4 separate regions of the Homo sapiens genome follow, and regions 2, 3 and 4 are each linked to region 1. Evidence: promoter capture Hi-C in 16 types of primary human blood cells and fetal thymus (Javierre and others, 2016). All regions are on one chromosome and are shown on one strand. The core of a region is centred on a gene start or on the middle of the fragment in contact, and the rest is flanking DNA. Distances in the headings are between cores, read along the strand shown.

Region 1 (4,489 bases), core at 695-3,194:
GCTTACTGCAACCTCTGCCTCCCAGGTTCAAGCAATTCTCCTGCCTCAGCCTCCCAAGTAGCTGGGATTACAGGCGCCTGCCACCACGCCTAGCTAATTTTTGTATTTTTGGTAGCAATGGGGTTTCACCATGTTGGCCAGGCTGGTCTCCAACTCCTGACCTCAGGTGGTCTGCTCACCTGGGCCTCCCAAAGTGCTGGGATTACAGGCGCGTGAGGCACCGCGCTGGGCCACCATTGTTCTTTTTAAATGAAATCTTGTAAGAAACCTTACTACGGCTGGGCATGGTGGCTCACGCCTGTAATCCCAGCACTTTGGGAGGCCGAGGCGGGCGGATCACGAGGTCAGGAGATCGAGACCATCCTGACTAACATGGTGAAACCCCGTCTCTACTAAAAATACAAAAAATTAGCTGGGCACAGTGGTGGGCGCCAATAGTCCCAGCTACTCGGGAGGCTGAGGCAGGAGAATGGCGTGAACCCAGGAGGCGGAGCTTGCAGTGAGCCGAGACTGCGCCACTGCACTCTAGCCTGGGTGACAAAGCGAGACTCTTTCTCAAAAAAAATAAAAATAAAAATAAAAATAAAAATAAAAATAAAAATAAAGAAAATTAACCGGGCATGGTGGCAGGCGCCTGTAATCCCAGCTACTCGGGGAGGCTGAGGCAGGAGAATTGCTTGAACTTGGGAGGCAGAGGTTGCAGTGAGCCGAGATTGTGCCATTGCACTCCAGCCTGACAACAAGAGCGAAACTCCATCTCAGGAAAAAAGAAAAGAAAGAAACCTTACTACATAAAATAGACAACAATTTTTTTTTTTTTTTTGAGACGGAGTCTCACTCCATCGCCAAGGCTGGAGTGCAGTGGTGCAATCTCAGCTCATTGCAACCTCTGTCTCCCAGGTTGTAGCTATTCTCCTGTCTCAGCCTCCCGAGTAGCTGGGACTACAGGAGCCTGCCACCAAGCCTGGCTAATTTTTGTATTTTTAGTAGAGACAGGGTTTCACCTTGTTGGTCAGACTGGTCTCAAACTCCTGACTTCAGGTGATCCACCTGCCTTGGCCTCCCAAAGTGCTGGGATTACAAGTGTGAGCAGTGGCGCCCAGCCGACGACAATGTTTTATTGGTGTTAATTTATTTTTAGGTTTAAAGTATAACATTAGCTTATACAGTCAATCAAAGACAGTTCCATGTGCAAAGTACATACTCAATAAAGATTTGAATACAGAGCTACTGAAATGGGGAAGATGGATGGAGGTTACAATGCACTTACCATCTGCAGCACCTATTTTAACCCCTCCAAGTTGGGTTGACTGTAAAGTGAACCAGTTCTGATCCTATAGAGAAGTCATTGTGAATGGTAACAATTTTTTAAAAATCCGCTTGCTTTTCAGACTCGGCATATAAATTAAATTAACAACAACAAATAACCATGAGTCCAGAAGTTGGCCCAAGATTGACTTCACCTATCTACAAATTAACCCTTTGCATCTCTTCTTTGATGGAGGCCAAATTCAACACATGGAGTGTTGAAATTATTCTAAGTGCAGTTTTAAAAAATAGATTTTGTTAATGAAAATTAAGTCTATCCTTTGCGGAGTTCCAGAGGCACTTCCAGAAACCTCTGTTGGAAAGCATTGTTTACCCAAGCTCGCATTACAGAGTCCCCTTTCCCCCAACCAGAAACTTGAAACTTTCTCCCTATTTCCCGCGATCCTTCCTTTTTCTATCACCGACCCGTCTCGCAGGCAGCGGTCAAGTTACTTTGAGCGACAAATAGACCCACCCCTTCAGGAGAGTGCCCGTCCCCGCCCCGAAGAGGTTGATTGGCAGGCCACGCTCGGAGATCCGCCAGCCGCGTAGCCCAGTTTCGGGAGAGTCCGCCCCCGACCCGCCCCCGACCCGCCCCGTAGGCTTGTTTTGGCGTCAGCTGCGCGCTGTGATGACGCCACGACGCTAACGCCCGAGAATGGCGGCGGCGGCGGCGGCGGCGGCGGCCGCTGCCATTGCCCGGAGATGGCCGGCAGAGCCGCCGAGACGCCGAAGAGCCCGCCGCCCGCGCGAGGTGAGGCGGCCCGGCCCAGGACGACGGCCCGACGGGCGGGAGGGGCAGCCGAACTGTGGTCGTGGTCGCTTTCTGGCGCTCCGGGGCCTGCCCCTGGTCAGCCTGCAGCGTCGGCCCGTGCCCCGTGCGCCAGGGCCTACAGGGTTGGAGAGCAGGCCGGGCGATGGCTGCTCGGGTTCCCGGCGTCCGAGTCTGGACTGGCCTCGGAACGTGCTGTCGTGCTGGATAGCCCGTCTCCAGGCCCGCTTGGGCCTGGTGGACGTGGTCGGTTGCCCTGCCTGCTTGCTGTTCAGCCGCCCCGCGTCCAGAGCGGGTCAGGTTGATCCAACCTGGTTGTCCTTGTCCTTACTGCCTTCTCGCGCCCGGCGCCTACTCCACACCCCTCCTTTGCGTCTGCCAGGGGCCGGCGGGGCAGCTGATCGCTTCCTTGTGCAGGCTGGGAAATAGCAGGTCTGAGTCCAGCTGGGTTGCTTGCTTGGCAAGCTTGTCATTCCTCTACCTGCAAGGGGAAGCCTAGTCCCCCACACTTAGTCCCCCTCCATAAAGCGGCTGAAGTGATAATTCCCACCTGAAAATCTGAGTAAGTCCTTCACTGCCTGAAACTAGTTCCTTAGTGCCTTCAGGACAAAGGCCGCACTTCTTAGCAAGGCATTCAGGGCTCTTCGTAATCTGGTGAAGGTTTAACCAGCCAATCAACACCGGAGCACTTCTGTGCTCCCTTTACGTAGTTTATTGTTGTTAAAACGTGTGGCGCTCCTGTTAGCTCTGGTTTCATACCTTTGTGTTTTAGTATTACTAATTTTGAGACAAGGCCTCTATTGCCCAAGCTGGAGTGCAATGGCTCATTCATAGCTCACTGCAGCCTTGAACTCCTGGACTCAAATGATCCTCCCGCCTCAACCTCCCGAGTAGCTGAGACAAGAGGCACTCCCCTCCACGCCTGGCTAAGTTTAAAATTTTTTGTAGAGCCAGGGAGTCTGGCTTTGTTGCCAGAGCTGGCTTCAAGAGACCCTCCTGCCTAGGCTCCTAACATATTGAGATTATTAATACAAGCGTGAGCCACTGTGCTTGGTCCCCTTGTGCTTTAGATAACGCAGTTTTCTCAGTTTGCTATACACTGCCTTCCACCCCACCGACCACCTACCAGTGTTGGAAACTTACATCTGTCCTATAAAATCCACCTGAGATGTCACTTCCTAGGAAAAAAATCTACCTTGCTTGGCATGTAACCATTAACTCCTCTATATCCATGCTGCTACTATTGAGTACATCCTGTTGTGTCACATGGTGGTCTTCTGTCTGCATATGTCTGGCTCTGTGCCTGGCATAAAATAGGGGCTAGCCTCCAGTAGCATTTGCTGAATGCTGACTTATGAATGGATAGATTCAACTGTATTTTTGAGCACCTATCAGGGCTAGGATCTAAGATGAGCACAGCAAATGCCAGCGTATGTGTGTGGTAGGTAGTACAGCCTCTTAATCCTGGATAGTCCAAAATCTCCTGGGATAATTTTGTGATACAAAATCAAGAGCCTTACTGTCTGAGTTAGTTTTTTTTTTTTTTTTTTTTTGAGACGGAGTTTTGCTCTTTTTGCCCAGGCTGGAGCAATGGCGCGATCTTGGCTCACTGCAACCTCTACCCCCCAGGTTCAAGTGATTCTCCTGCCTCAGCCCCCAGAGTAGCTGGGGTTACAGGCAAGCACCACTATGCCCAGCTAATTTTGTATTTTTAGTAGAGATGGTGTTTCACCGTGTTGGCCAGGCTGGTCTCGAACTCCTGACCTCAGGTGATCCACCTGCCTCGGCCTCCCAAAGTGCTAGGGTTGCAGGCATAAGCCACTATGCCTGGCTGAGATTTTTTTTTTTTTGTTTAAACAGAGACGAGGTCTCGCCATGTTGCCGAGGCTGGTGTCGAACTCCTGGGCTCAAGCAGTCCTCCCACCTTGGCCTCCCGAAGTTTTAGGGTTACAGGCAAGAGCCACCACACCTGACCCACTCTTTGAGATTTTGATGAAGAAGATCTGGGGTAGGAATCTGTATTTTTTTTTTTTTTCTGAGATGGAGTCTTGCTCTGACACCCAGGCTGGAGTGCAGTGGTGCGATCTCGGCTCACTGCAACCTCCGCCTCCCAGGTTCAAGCGATTCTCCTGCCTCAGCCTCCCGAGTAGCTGGGATTACAATCACGCATCACCACGCCCAGCTAATTTTTGTATTCTTAGTAGAGACGGGATTTCATCCTGTTGGCCAGGCTGGTCTTGAACTCTTGACCTCGTGATCCACCCGTCTCAGCCTCCCAAAGTGCTGGGATTACAGGCGTGAGCCACCATGTCTGGCCAGGTATCTGTATTTTGAGAAAACTTCCCAGGTAACTTTACTGTGCTTCCTCATTGAAGATCTTTGTCATTGCCTAAGAAAACTGTTGTCTCC
Region 2 (4,489 bases), core at 836-3,335, 200 kb after region 1:
GCATAGAGTTTCAAGCTAATTCAGTCCTTCCATTTTACAGGAGAGGAAATTGAGACTCAAATTGACCTGCCCAAGGTCATTTAACTGGTTAATATCAAAACAGAGACCCAGGACTTCTGACTCCTAGTCCTTTGGTCTTCTCCAGTAAGTTGCTTAATTTTTGCTTGAAAATCCTACATTTCCTTCTTGTGGATTAAAAACAAGAACAACAACAACAAAAATCCTACAGTTCTTTTTGCGCAACCTATAATTTTGATCATTTTGTAACTTTTTGTTTGTGATACATTAGATAAATATTTAATCCAGTGTTATTGAGTACCTATTATGTGCAAGGTATTTTTATGTGCATTATCTCATGATAACCTAGAGAGAGGTATTATTTCTATTTAGCGCATAAGGAAACAGAAATGCAGATGGATTTGACCATCTAGAAAGTGGAATTAGCTGGTATTTGAACTTTGGTTTTCTGACCTCAAATTTTGGGCCCTTTCTGCTATGCCTGCCTCTTGCCTTGCTATTCTCAGAAAGAGTTTAAGTACAGAAAGACTCAGTTTTTCCTATGGTGAAAGCAAGGGTCATGTTGGGCATATGGAATCAAACATATATGAGTCATGTCTTACAAATTACATGTGTTCCTGTGACTAGATTTTCTGCTTTGGGCTCAAAATAGCTACTTGAGGGATGCTTCTTATTCCTGCCTGCTCTAGGAAATTTTAAAGGGTAGCAGTGATACAGTTAGACCAATAGAGGGTACTGTATCGCTATATCGCTAACTGTGCTAGACCCAAATTTAGCTCTTTTGGGCCTTTTCTCTTTGCTGCTTTGTGGATCTGGAGGTCAAGAGGTGATATCATTTTAGGTTTTAAGGCAGTTTACTCTAAGGAGAAATTGGCCTTTGTCTTTGGCAGCCCCCCTCTCCGCCCATGTTGTCTTGATTAGGGTCTGATTTGTCATCTTGCAGGCTGTTTTGCTTTTAAAGTTTAAAGCGTTTAGATCTGTCGTCAAAATTGCCCTAAACCTGAATGAGGAAAAATTCAGAATTTTAAAAATGCTCAATAGTCAGGGTAGTTTCATTTTTCAAGGTTAACATTTTGCTTTCACATGTTCAAAAAAAAAAAAATGAGTACTATTTATTTGATTGAATTTAGGATGCAAGGAGAACTACCTTCTATAGCCACTAGGACTGATACACATTTTTTTCCTTGATATTTTGACCAATTTGCCATCTGCCATTTATTCTTCTCTCTCAAGATCAGTACTCTTTTGGATTTTCTCTCTCTCTTGTACATACCCAGTTGTCTCTGAGTTTCACCAGAACTCTCCCTTTGAGAGCAAAGGCAAGAAAGCTCTTTTGTCATACATGTTACCTAGTAAATGTTGGCTGATCATGGTTTTAGCACTTCTGTTGACTTTTTAATCATCCGATTACTATTTGAAATAAATAGTAAAATACTCTTAATCTTCTAGTTTAAATATATGCAAAATAGTTACATTTGGATTGATATTTGCTGAGGGGAAGGAATGAGACACGGATGCTGGCTTCACACAGCTCTTTTCTTTTTAAGAGTGACGAAGGACTTTTCCAGAAGCCTTCAGCAAACTTAACCTTGCGTTTCATTGACCAAAACTGGGTTACATTCCCTTTCCTAAATTAGTTACTGGTAAAGATGAGTGGAATTATTCTTAGCCAACCAGACCTATGCCTTGGCCTGAGGATATGGTTGGCTTCCCCAAAACACAAGGCTGCATGGGAGAGGAGTGGATAGAAGGATAGAAAATCTGTTAGGGAGGAAGAAAGAGAAAATGGATGCTGGGAGGGGGTCAACCAAAAGAATTGTCTGTGCTTACTATCCACAGTATTCTAGCAACTGAGGGACTTAAAAAAAATTTTTTTTTTTTGAGAGAGAATCTCACTCTATTTCCCAGGCTGGAGTGCAACCTCTGCCTCCTGGGTTCAGGTGATTGTGATGCCTCAGCCTCTCAAGTAGCTGAAGTAGCTGGGATTACAGGTGTGCACCACATGCCCAGCTAATTTTTTTTTTTTTTTTTTTTTTTGAGACAGAGTCTCACTCTGTCACCTAGGCTGGAGCACAGTGGCACAATCTCTGCTCACTGCAACTTCCACCTCCCAGGTTCAAGTGATTTTCCTGCCTCATGCCTCCCAAGTAGCTGGGATTACAGATGTGTGTCACCGTGCCTGGCTAATTTTTGTATTCTTAGTAGAGACAGGGTTTCACCATGTTGGACACGCTGGTCTTGAACTCCCTACCTCAGGTGATCCGCCTGCCTCGGCCTCCCAAAGTGCTGGGATTATAGGCATGAGCCCCTGTGCCCAGCCAGTTGAGGGACTTTATAATGTAAACCTGACTTTTGTTATGCAGTTACTTTCTCTGGCACTTGCTTTTTCTTTTGCTTTGTCAGAGTCCTTGGGGATGGGCATGGGAGTTGATAGAGGTGCCAAGAAAGAGAAGTATGGCTATTGATCCTGGATTAATAACAGTGGGGTTGGTGTCTTGATGGGTGGGAGATCTGGGACACAAAATTCATTTTTGTTGTGTGGTTCAGGTGGAACCTGATGATTATGCAGACATACAGAAGCATAAAGACAGTGTCAAATCTGATTTGTCAAAATTGAGATAGTAAAGTGTTTTTTAAATGCTTATTTTATTTTATTTCTTAAAATTTATTTTGAGACAGGGTCTCACTTTGTTGCCCAGGCTGGAGTTCAGTGGCTCAATCATAGATCACTGCAGTCTTAACTCAGCCTCCCAAGTAGCTCAAACCACAGGTGCTTGCCACCATGCCCAGCTAATTTTTAAAAATTGTTTTTGATAGAGACGGAGTCTTTCTGTGTTGCCCAGGCCAGTCTCAAACTCCTGGGCCTGAGCAGTCCTCCCACCTTGGCCTCCCAATGTACTGGGATTACAGGTGTGAGCCACCATGCCCACGCTAAAAATTCTTTTTAAAGTGCTTTGTTTCATTCTTTCGAAGGCTCATCTGAAAGAAACTAGCTGTTGTTAAAGGATAAAATAGAAGAATATGTAGAAGAAGAGAAAGTAGTAACCAGAGGGGAACATTGTATGAGATCTTAGAGTAACTGAGCTGGAAGGGACCTCAAGAAAGTCCTCTTCCATTAAGTGGGTAAATATACTAAATCATTTAATCTTTTAATTAAGTTTTGTTAAGTGTCAGTATTATTATGTGCCAAATACTGGTAATACAAATTAAATATAATTCAGTCTATTGGAGTAGACATATAAATGACTACAACAATATTAATATAACAGAGGTACGGAGAAGGGCCTCTGAGCATATAATGACACAGATTAACTCTGAGTAGAGAGGTCAGAGAAGAGTACAGTTGAGCAGAATCCAGTGGGATGAGTTCACCAGGTGGCTAAGGGAGGACATAACATTTCAGGCCAGCCGATTATCACACCCAAAGACAGGTTAAAGAGCATGGTCCTTTAATTTGGAAAGTGGAAGATCAGGATTCTGTTGTGTCCAGATGTGGCTGGAGAGGGACAGACTATTATACTGTATTGAGGAGTTTGGATTTTAGTTTGAAGACAGCAGGGAGCCATTGAAGGATTTCAAATTGGGCAGAAATGTCAGATTTGTAGCTCCATCACTCTACTATACTGTGGGTAATAGATTGAAGAAGACAGGAATGGAGGTGGGGACACATGTATTTGAGAAATGATAAGGGTAGAGCAGTGAAGACGACAAAGTGGGAATAGTGCTCAGATAGATTTACAGGAAAGAAATCAATAGGACCTGGTATCCATTGAGTAAGGAAAGGGAAGGAGGCAGGATTATTTCTATTTTTCTAGTTTGGGTCAGTTGTGGTAGGAGAATTAGCTTTGGAGGTGGGGAGGGAGAAAGGTGATTCATTTTAATAAAATGTGCTATTACAAAATGTCTGTGGAAATAGTGGTGAACAAGACATGGCCCTTGCCTTCATGAAGTGCACAGTCTAGTAATTATTAATGTAACTAGTGTCATGAAAATACAAAGTGCAAAGTATAAAGTGCAATGAGAGTATATAGTAAAAAGGAGTTCAGTTTTGTGTATGTCTAGTTTGAAGCATCTGTAGATTTATTAGGCAATTGGAAATATAAGTGTAGAGCTCAAAAGAGAAACTTGCACAAAAGAGATTTGAAAGTTATTGGTCTATAGATATTGATGATAGTTGAAGTCATGGGCATGGATGAAGTCACTGCAACAGAGTGTGGATTATAATGTGAAAAGGAGGCTGAGAACAGGACTCTGGAAACAACAGTATTGCAAGGATGGCAAGGAGAGAAGTCTGAGAAGATACTGTCACAGAGTTAAATTAGACAATCAAGAGAATGGTGTAGGGAAAGCCAAGGCAGAAGAGGGTTTTATCTATTTCAACAGCTTTATTGAGGTAAAATTGACATTTAATAAACAACATATTTAAAGTGTACAGTTTAAGTTTTGACACATGTAGAGACCCATGAAACTT
Region 3 (4,489 bases), core at 618-3,117, 180 kb before region 1:
ACAGAAGACCCATACTGTAGAATTCCACTTTTTTGAAATTCAGGAATAAGCCAGCCTTATTTATAGCAACACTAGTCAGAAGGCGGCAGTGGCGGTGGTGGCTGAGGCGGAGGGAATCGAACAGAAAGAGGCACAAGGCTACATTCTAGAGTGATGGAAATGTTCTGTATCTTGTTTGGTGCTTGGGTTACATGGTGGTACAACTGTCAAAACTCATCAAATTGAATATTTAAGATCTGTGTTTTTAATTGTATGTAAATTATACCTTAATTTTTAATCACCTTAAGTAGTTGTGCCCAAGGACATAGAACAACCTGTTCACACCTTGCAAATTCAGTTCTGTAATCAAACTAAATGGATATGTGTGAATTAGAAGTCTCTTTCCTTTAAAACAAAACAAAAAAACCTGTAAGCTTACTTTTGGGGACATCATCGGTACAGGCTGGGGCCAAGAGAATAAGTTTTCTGAGAAAGAAACTTCAAGCTAAGGCCCAGTAGGCTGGTGAATCCCAGCACTTGCTGAGCGTATCTGAAGATGGCACTTTTCCCTGGGCAGTGTGTCACACTGGGTGAGTGGCTGAGCTCCAGATGTTAGGAAGTCCTCACCACTCATGAACAACTCATACTGAGGAAGGGAGGGTTCAAAAGGGGTTCTCCCGTATCATTTCTGGCAAGCAAATTTAATGATGGCTATTCATAGAGCATTGGTATGTATCAGTTTGCAGTTGTAGCTATACAGGTTGGGCAATAAGACTTGGCACTGAAAGAGTGGCAAGCCCTCACTTAGTGTCAGCCTCCACTGTGCCTCAAGGGCCACTCACCATGAGACTAGCCCCAGATCCAGCCCCACACCTTCCAGAGCACTGCATCCTGAGAGGCACCTCCACAGACTTGATGCACACCTCTGTCCCCTCAGGCACATTCCAAAAGGCCAGTGTCAAGACCCATACTGTAGAATTCCCTTTATTTGAAATGCAAATAAGACTCATTTGATAATTTGATTTTTCTGTGAATTCTTTTCAGTAATTTCATCCTAATATAAAGCACTGGGGCCAGAGGTGAGGGTCACGGCCCTAGTTATGAAGTGAGACAGATCCTCAACCTAACTTAAAACAAACTGTAGGGCTGAGAGCAGTGGCTCACACCTGTAATCCCAGGACTTTGGGAGGCCGAGGCAAGTGGATCACTTGAGCCCAAGAGTTTGAGACCAGCCTGGGCAACATGGCAAAACTCCTTCTCCACAAAAAATACAAAAATTAGCTAGGCATGGTGGCACAAACCTGTAGTCCCAGCTACTCAGGAGAGGAGACTGGGGTGGGAGGATCTCTTGAGCCCAGTAGGTCAAGGCTGCAGTGGGCTGTGATTGCACCACTGTACTCCAGCCTGGGCAACAGAGCCTATCTCAAAAGAAAAAAAAAAAAAAGATTGGGACATTAGCTAGGCTGATTAGGTGTTTTAGGTGCTTGTGTATAAAATGACACCTGTAATTTATGTAGATTGATTAATAAATACTTATTAAGCACAGACTATGAGCCAGGCCTCAGCAAAGTGCAGGATACTTCAGTAAGCCAAACAGATATAGTTTCTGCTTGCAAAGAGTGTACAGTCTAGGAGGAGAGATAAGATAATCAAATAATCACATAAATATGTAATTATGATTTGAGATTAAATGCTATAAAGGAAAAGAATGGTGCTATGAGAGACTCAGCAGGATATAAATTAGCCTTATTATTATTATAATGGAGTCTCACTCTGTCACCAGGCTGGAGTGCAGTGGCATGATCTCAGCTCACTGCAACCTCTGCCTCCTGGGTTCAAGCATTCCTCCCACTTCAGCCCCCTGAGTAGCTAGGACCACAGGCACATGCCACCACACCCAGCTATTTTTTTTGTATTTTTGGTAGAGACGGGGTTTCCCATATTGCCCAGGCTGGTCTTGAGGCTGGTATTCAACTCTTGTCCTCAAGTGATCCGCCCGTCTCAGCCTCCCAAAGTGTTGGGATTACGGGCGTGAGCCACCGTGCCCAGCCAAATTAGCCTTATGTTTATCTATTTTTTATTTTTTGGGGACAGAGTGTCACTCTGTCACCCAGGCTGGAGTGCAGTGGTGCACTCTTGGCTCACCACAACCTCTGTTTCCTGGGTGCAAATGATTCTCCTGCCTCAGCCTCCCGAGTACCTGGGATACAACTGTGAGCCACGACACCCAGCTAATTTTTTTTGTATTTTTATTTATTATTTTTTTAGAGACAGGGTCTTGCTCTGTTGGTCAGGCCGGAGTGCAGTGGGGCGATCATAGCTTACTGTAGCCTCGAACTCCTGGGCTCAAATGATCCTCCTGCCTAGGCCTCCCAAAGTGCTGGGATTATAGGCATGAGCCACCACGCCAGCCCTGTATTTTTAGTAGAAACCGGGTTTCACCATGTTGGCCGGGCTGGTCTCAAACTCCTCACCTCAAGTGATCTGCCCGCCTTGGCCTCCCAAAGTTAGCCTTTGTTTTTTGAGACGAAGTGGAGAAGTGCAGTGGTGCGATCTCAGCTCACCGCAAGCTCCGCCTCCCGGGTTCACGCCATTCTCCTGCCTCAGCCTCCCGAGTAGCTGGACTACAGGCGCCTGCTACCATGCCCGGCTAATTTTTTGTTTTTTAGTAGAGACGGGGTTTCACCGTGTTAGCCAGGATGGTCTCGATCTCCTGACCTCGTGATCCACCCACCTCAGCCTCCCAAAGTGCTGGGATTACAGGCATAAGCCACCGCGCCCGGCCAGTTAGCCTTATTTTTAAAAGTGTTCAATGACAGATTTATAATGCACTTTGAGTTCCACGTGAGAAAGGTTTCACACTCTGAGGCTCAATTACGATAAAAACACTGACATTGTGAGTCATTTTCTATCCACTGACCCCTACCCTGCTCCTTGACTATCAATCCCCACTTGCTGTGCTCTATTCAGAGTTGAGCTCAGTCTCTCTCCCCAACTGCAAGACTCATTGCAGAGGTACCTATACCTGCCGCCATGGTCCTGAATAAAGTCTTCATCACCATGAAAAAAACCCAAACATTGACATTGGTTGTGCAGTAAAAGGCACAGCAGCCCAATGTCATTAAAAACCCAATTTGTGATTAACAGACACTCCCCTTCCCCAGAGCAGTAACCAGACCCAAAAGCATTTCTTCAGAATGAAGACTCCAAAAGAGGTAGGAAGGAAAAGTACAATGTTCAGAACTTCAAACTGCAATTATGCAACTCTCTCATGATGCTCTGTGTTCAGGCATCATGGCTGAAAACCCTGGATTATTGGTTGTAAATCATACTACAAATAACCAAGCTTCAGCTATCTCATCTTTGTCAAATACAATTAAATCCAGTGGTCAATTCTCACCTTCATCCCACTTTGACCTATCAGCAGCATCTGACATGGCAGGTTCCAACCTCCTTGAAACACTCTTCACCCGACTTCCACAACACAAATTTCTTCTGATTTTCCTCTTACCTCTCTGACCACTTCTCGGTTCCTTCTGCTCATTTCTCCTGATGGTGACTGTAGTAACCATGGCTCAGTCCCCAGTCTATTTCTCTTTTCTATCTATACTCACTCCCTTGGTGGTTCCATTCAGTGTCATGGCTTTTAAATGTTATCTATTCCCTGATGACTCCCAAAGTTATCAGCCAGGTCCTCTTTAAGCTCCAGACGGGTGCAAACAACCGCCTATTAACATCTCTACTTGGATGTTTAATAGGCATCTCACACTTAAAATGTCCAGAACTAAACTCCTGATGTTTCTCCCCACCAAACATACTCTTCCCACAATGCCTTCATCTCAGAAACTGGTAACACAAACTTTTCAAATGCTCAAGTTAAAACCTTGGAGTTATCCTTGAGTCTTCTTTTTCTCTCACACTTCACATCTGATCCATTAACAAGTCTTGCTGGCTCTCTACCTTCAAAATATACCCTGCATCCAAGAACCTCTATTGTGCAGACATCCACGTGGCTTTCTCTCTCTCTCTCACGTTTCCTTCAGGTCTCTACTTCCATGTTGGCTTTTCAGAAACAGGTGTATTCTTCCATTGTTTGTCTCTCCCCACCATCCCTGCTAGAATGTATCCTCCTTGAAGACAACAAATTTTTTGTCTGTTTTGTTCATTGCTATATCCCTAGTGCCTAAAACAAGGTCTGACATGTAGTTGGTGCTAAATATTTGCTGAAAGAATGAAAGATTTCAGACCTAGTTCCTGCACAGTCAATAAACTAAGACATATATACTGAGCCCATCAAAACCATACTATAGAAAACCATATATACTGAGCTCACCAAAACCATCAGTAGGCTCTTGCAATGTTTAAAAATGTAATAAAGAGCTCCCTCTCCCTCTCCCTCTCCCCCTCCCCCTCCCCCTCCCCCTCTCCCTCTCCCTCCACGGTCTCCCTCTGATGCCGAGCCAAGGCTGGACGGTACTGCTGCCATCTCGGCTCACTGCAACCTCCCTGC
Region 4 (4,489 bases), core at 720-3,219, 180 kb after region 1:
TCAGCTAATTTTTTATTTTTTTAATAGAGATGAGGTCTCCCTATGTTGCCCAGGCTGGGAATGGCCTTTTCTAAACCAGTTTCTTCTCATTGAGAGGTTGATGGTAGTGCCAAGGGCATATCCCTATAAAAGAAAATGAAGAGTTCACTTGCCTTATCTCTTTGGCACAACCCTGGAACTCTGTGGGACTCTGATCAGCTGCACATGTCTGCAGGGAGAGACAGTGAGTGGTCCTCAAATTCTTCAGTGAATTGGGTCTGAACAGAGGGTGCAGTCTTTGCCCAGAGCAGAGTTCCACCCTCCTCTTCAGTCCTAGGGTTCATACCTGCCTAGGAGTGCCTGTGGCTGCCATGGTATGTGAGTGTTTCCATGGCTGTGCAAGCTAGGATGGTAAGATGCCCTGAGGTCTGCGTCCAGAGCTGGGCAGCCTTTGTCCTATTTCCTGTTCAATGCTGCAGCCCTCACTCCCTGGTTCTGGTGTCCTGCTGGGCAAGTTGGTGACCACCAGCTCTCCAATGGTCTGGGATAGCTCCATGGCAAGGGAGGGCTTGCCCCAGCCCAGGTCAGCTATCCAGCTTTTTGGCCAGCTGGCAAGTCTGGCCAAGAAGACGTGCTGAACAGTGCTGAGCTTGCTCACTGGGTGAAAGGTGATATTATCATTCCTGCTGAGCCATCTCTTGGCAGCTCCTCAAGAGGGTGTGCTATCACAGAGAAAGGGAGCGGCTTTCAAGCATAGGCAGGGCTGCTTCTGGTCCAGCCAGGTGCCTTCTTCCCAGACAAGCTGAGTCAAGGACTTGCCACCAGCCGGGGCGCCCCGACTTACTTCCCACTTTGTCCTGAGCGTGCCGTGGCACTTTCCCAGCCACTGAAGTCATAGGCCCACGTGGAGTTACTAGAGCAGCATAGGGGGTGGGGGATGGGAGGGTGTCCTGGAGGGCTGGGGAAGGCCACCTTCACCCAATACTGCTCTCCTGCCCTACCTCTAGCCAGCCGACTTCCACTGGGTGTCCCAGGCAGTCAGTCATCTTGCCTCCCTGAGCCTTCATTTCACGGTCTGTGGAGTGATGGTGACAGTTGCACCTCACACTTGTATAGATAAATGTAGTCATGAGTAACCCATGTGAACTAAATGATGCTGTGTTTTACCCACGTAGGGGGAAGTTAGAGGCTATTCAAGATGTGGGAAGGGAAGGTGCCCATTCTGGTTAGAAGGAATAGAAGAATCTCACCCCTTTCCTGGCACTGGACCTGCCATGCCAGAATTTGGTGTGTTTCCCCTCCCTTCCCTGGAAGATACTTGGCAGTAGGTCCTCTGTGGTGGCTGAAGCAGGAAGGGGCTCCCGCACTTCGAGACCTCAGTCAGGCTGTCCAGGAGAATGTGTTTCTGACCGTGGTCCTTGGCTGTGACCCTCAAGCTTTGTACCACTAGCTGGAAGAGTAGATGACCAAGGTCGAAGTGGCTTTTTAATTTATTTTTATTTTTATTTTTAATTTTAGATAGGGTCTCAGTCTGTTGCCCAGGCTGGAGTGCAGTGGCATGATCATAGCTCACTACAGCCACAACTCCTGGGTGCAAGCAATCCTCTTGCCTTAGCCTCCCTAGTAGCTATGGCTACAGGTGTGTGCCAACATGCCTGGCTAATTTTCTTTTTCTTTTTTTTTTTTTTTTTGAGACAGAGTTTTGCTGTTGTCGCCCAGGCTGGAGTGCAGTGGCACGATCTTGGCTCACCGCAACCTTCGCCTCCAGGGTTCAAGCGATTCTCTTGCCTCAGCCTCCCGAGTAGCTGGGATTACAGGCACCCGCCACCACGCCCAGCTAATTTTGTATTTTTAGTAGAGACGGGGCTTCACCATGTTGGTCAGGCTGGTCTTGAACTCCTGACCTCAGGTGATCCGCCCGCCTTGGCCTCCCAAGGTGCTGTGATTACAGGCGTGAGCCACCGTGCCCAGCCGATAATTTTCTTTTTTTTAATTTTTGTAGAGTTGAGTCTTACGTTGCCCAGGCTGCTCTTGAACTCCTAGCCTCAAGCAGTCCTCCTGCATTGGCCTCTCAGAGTGCTGGGATTACAGATGTGAGCCACTGCTCCTGGCCAGTGGTGGTTCTTCTTATGGGGGTCACATTGCCTTGGCTACACATACATCTCTGGTGCCTTCTTGGAGCTCCTTTCCCTGCCATCAGAGCATAGCCCAGGCCTTAGAGCCTGCCTGGGCATCAGGCAAGTCATTTCTTTTCTCAGGCGGTGCAGTATGACAACCACTACACCAACACCAAGTACTGCTTGTGCCAGATGCTACGAGAACAGCTGGAGTCGCCCCAGGGAAGGTTGCTCCATGCTGCCCAGTCTTCCCGGGAAATTTGGTAAGAGGCACAATAAGATGTCCATCTGTCCTTGTACGCATTGCCCAAGTTTGACTTTGAGCCCTAAGCTGACTCCACCAGGGGACCAGGGACACAGCTTCTGGATGTAGATGTAGAGGAGTGGAGTGATGGTACAGCTTTGCCTCCCAGGAGGGGATTCTTTGAAAGCTTTGAAACGTCCCATCCCTGGACGGATCAGCAGAGCTCTGGGAACTAGGGTACTAGAAGGATAGAGGAATGCAAAGGAAGGGGATTTTCCATAAATGGGATAGTCACAGGCCAGGCCCCCAGGAACCAGTGGTCAGGAGAATTGGGCTGTAGCATGGAGCCTCTACCTTGAGCCTGCACTCACATCCATCACCCTGCAGTTTGAGAGACCACCTGTTGATTCTCTAGATCAGGTGCAGCTCTAGCTCAGATGGTTGACAGTTGAGGCCCTTCACAAGCTGGCCTAGCCACTGCCCCCACAGCTCCCTGTCTACCTGTCTGCTTCCAGAACTCCACACCTGTGCTTGTAATGGGTCGTCTGCCTGGAAGGCTCTCTCCCTCTCACGTGAGCTATCTGTAGCCTCCCTCTTACATAGATGCCTTTCTGAACCACTTTTGCCATTGGGGATCTATCTTCGTTTGAGTCTTCCAGCCTTCAAGATGTTTCCTAGAAGGGAAAAACCTTTGCCAGAGCCCTCTTCCCACCCTTGGCTTATGGCATTGGTTCAGTCCCTACCCCACATAACTCTGTAGCTCTGGGTGGTGCCTCAGTGTCAGCTGAGACCCATGTATAACTGCCTGTGGCTGGGCGGGAAGTGGGGAACCACTTAGTGGTCAGGCCTCTGTCTCTTCCTCCCATGGGCCCATGTGCTTGATCAGCATTGGTTAACTCAGTCACGGCTGGCTGGGGATACCATCTGTGTGCTTCCCCTCAGGAGAGAGGCTGCAGGTGGTGGGGGTGACCTTTACAACCTTTGCCACCCAGCCCAGCCTCCCTCCAGTGTCCACGCTTGGGTTCACATTCACTTTCCATCTTCCAGTCCACAGTAATCCCAGGGCTGGGCAGGGGGCACATTCTGATGGCCAGGCCCCGGTGGTGTTTTGGTGTATGTGGTAGAGGAGTTTCTCAGTGGTGGGGCCCTGGGGTCCTGCAGTACCCTGGATGCTGGCTCCGCTAAAGTGTTTGCTCTGATCTGCTTCTTCCTCCCTAGTGAGGCCTTTGGCCTTGGTGCCTTCTATGAGGAGACCACACAGGAGCTGGATGCCCAGCAGGCCAGGCTCTCAGCCAAGACTTCAGAGCAGACAGGGGAGCCAGCTGAAGATACCTCTGGTGTCATTAAGATGGCTGTCAAGTTTGACCGGTAGGTCTCCAGCTTGGCCTCAGCTTGGGCTAGGGCCAGCACCCTTGGGGTCCCACTGGGCCAGCACACTGGCTGCTGTATGTGCTTAATGTCAAACGTAGGGACCACAGGTCTTGTTGGTTTGGAAACTCGTTCTAAATTTTCAGCATCCCATAGAAGGTGCTTTCAGGGGAGATAGTCCCTGAAAGGCTGTCCCAAGGATAACTGAACTCTACTTTTTCCCTGATTTACCGCCTCCCACAACTCAGGGCAGGGGGGACTTGTCTCCTGTTCCTGAAAGTCTGTGCTTTTCCAAGGCCCTGAGGAACTGGCTCCTGGCATGAAGCTCCTCAAACAACAGCAGGACCCTAGCCCTCATTTGGCTCTGCAGCCCCTACCCACACCCAGTGCCCCTCACCAGCTCTGTGGTGCTCTCTCAAGCTGCTTACGCCTCAGATTGTGACTCAGCTTTGAATGGTGCCCTCCTCTGGGATCTGAGCCTTTCTCCAGTCCCCAGGACCAGACAGGAGCCAGTCTTGTCTGGCAGAGGTGTGGAGAGGGGGAGCAGGGTGGTGGGGAATAGCTGTTGGGCAGTCAGATGCCAGGGAGAGTTCCAGTTGGGAAGTTGGAATATGACCCCTCCCACCCTGTCACTGTGTCACCCTGTCACAGGCTGACTCTGAAACCAGATTCCAAGTGTCCATGGCTGCAGCAGATGATCATGACACTTGGCAGGCGGAATCAGGATGGGCGCTGAGCTAGATCCCCGAGACCATTGTCTGGCTACCTCCATTGCCCACCT

Evidence for each region. The method cuts DNA at HindIII sites, captures the fragments that hold promoters and counts their contacts. A CHiCAGO score of 5 or more calls a contact.
Region 2: a fragment that was not itself captured here is called in contact with the fragment with the promoter of PSKH1 in region 1 in 1 of 17 cell types (neutrophils); the score reaches 5.4 in neutrophils.
Region 3: a fragment that was not itself captured here is called in contact with the fragment with the promoter of PSKH1 in region 1 in 1 of 17 cell types (erythroblasts); the score reaches 6.4 in erythroblasts.
Region 4: a contact is called between a fragment that was not itself captured here and the fragment with the promoter of PSKH1 in region 1, in 6 of 17 cell types (total B cells, naive B cells, neutrophils and 3 more). The highest score is 7.7, in total B cells.

The regions. Positions count from the first base shown.
Region 1 is chr16:67,891,310-67,895,798 of GRCh38, forward strand. PSKH1 (protein serine kinase H1) reads left to right here and starts at 1,945. Exons shown (of 3, transcript NM_006742.3): 1 at 1,945-2,062. RefSeq lists silencers at 1,682-1,741, 2,072-2,191. The HindIII fragment of the contact is 6,871 bases long and covers 1-2,543 here.
Region 2 is chr16:68,093,316-68,097,804 of GRCh38, forward strand. All of the region lies in intron 1 of NFATC3 (nuclear factor of activated T cells 3), which reads left to right. Among named protein-coding and RNA genes, the nearest start is that of NFATC3, 10 kb to the left of the region's middle. RefSeq lists a silencer at 471-765. The HindIII fragment of the contact is 6,898 bases long and covers 1-4,489 here.
Region 3 is chr16:67,707,898-67,712,386 of GRCh38, forward strand. The region is part of intron 1 of GFOD2 (Gfo/Idh/MocA-like oxidoreductase domain containing 2); the gene reads right to left. Among named protein-coding and RNA genes, the nearest start is that of GFOD2, 9.2 kb to the right of the region's middle. RefSeq lists enhancers at 1,433-2,211, 2,212-2,989. The HindIII fragment of the contact is 2,912 bases long and covers 412-3,323 here.
Region 4 is chr16:68,071,797-68,076,285 of GRCh38, forward strand. DUS2 (dihydrouridine synthase 2) reads left to right here. Exons shown (of 17, transcript NM_017803.5): 13 at 2,238-2,359; 14 at 3,559-3,708. Among named protein-coding and RNA genes, the nearest start is that of NFATC3, 11 kb to the right of the region's middle. RefSeq lists an enhancer at 3,526-3,635. The HindIII fragment of the contact is 1,112 bases long and covers 1,414-2,525 here.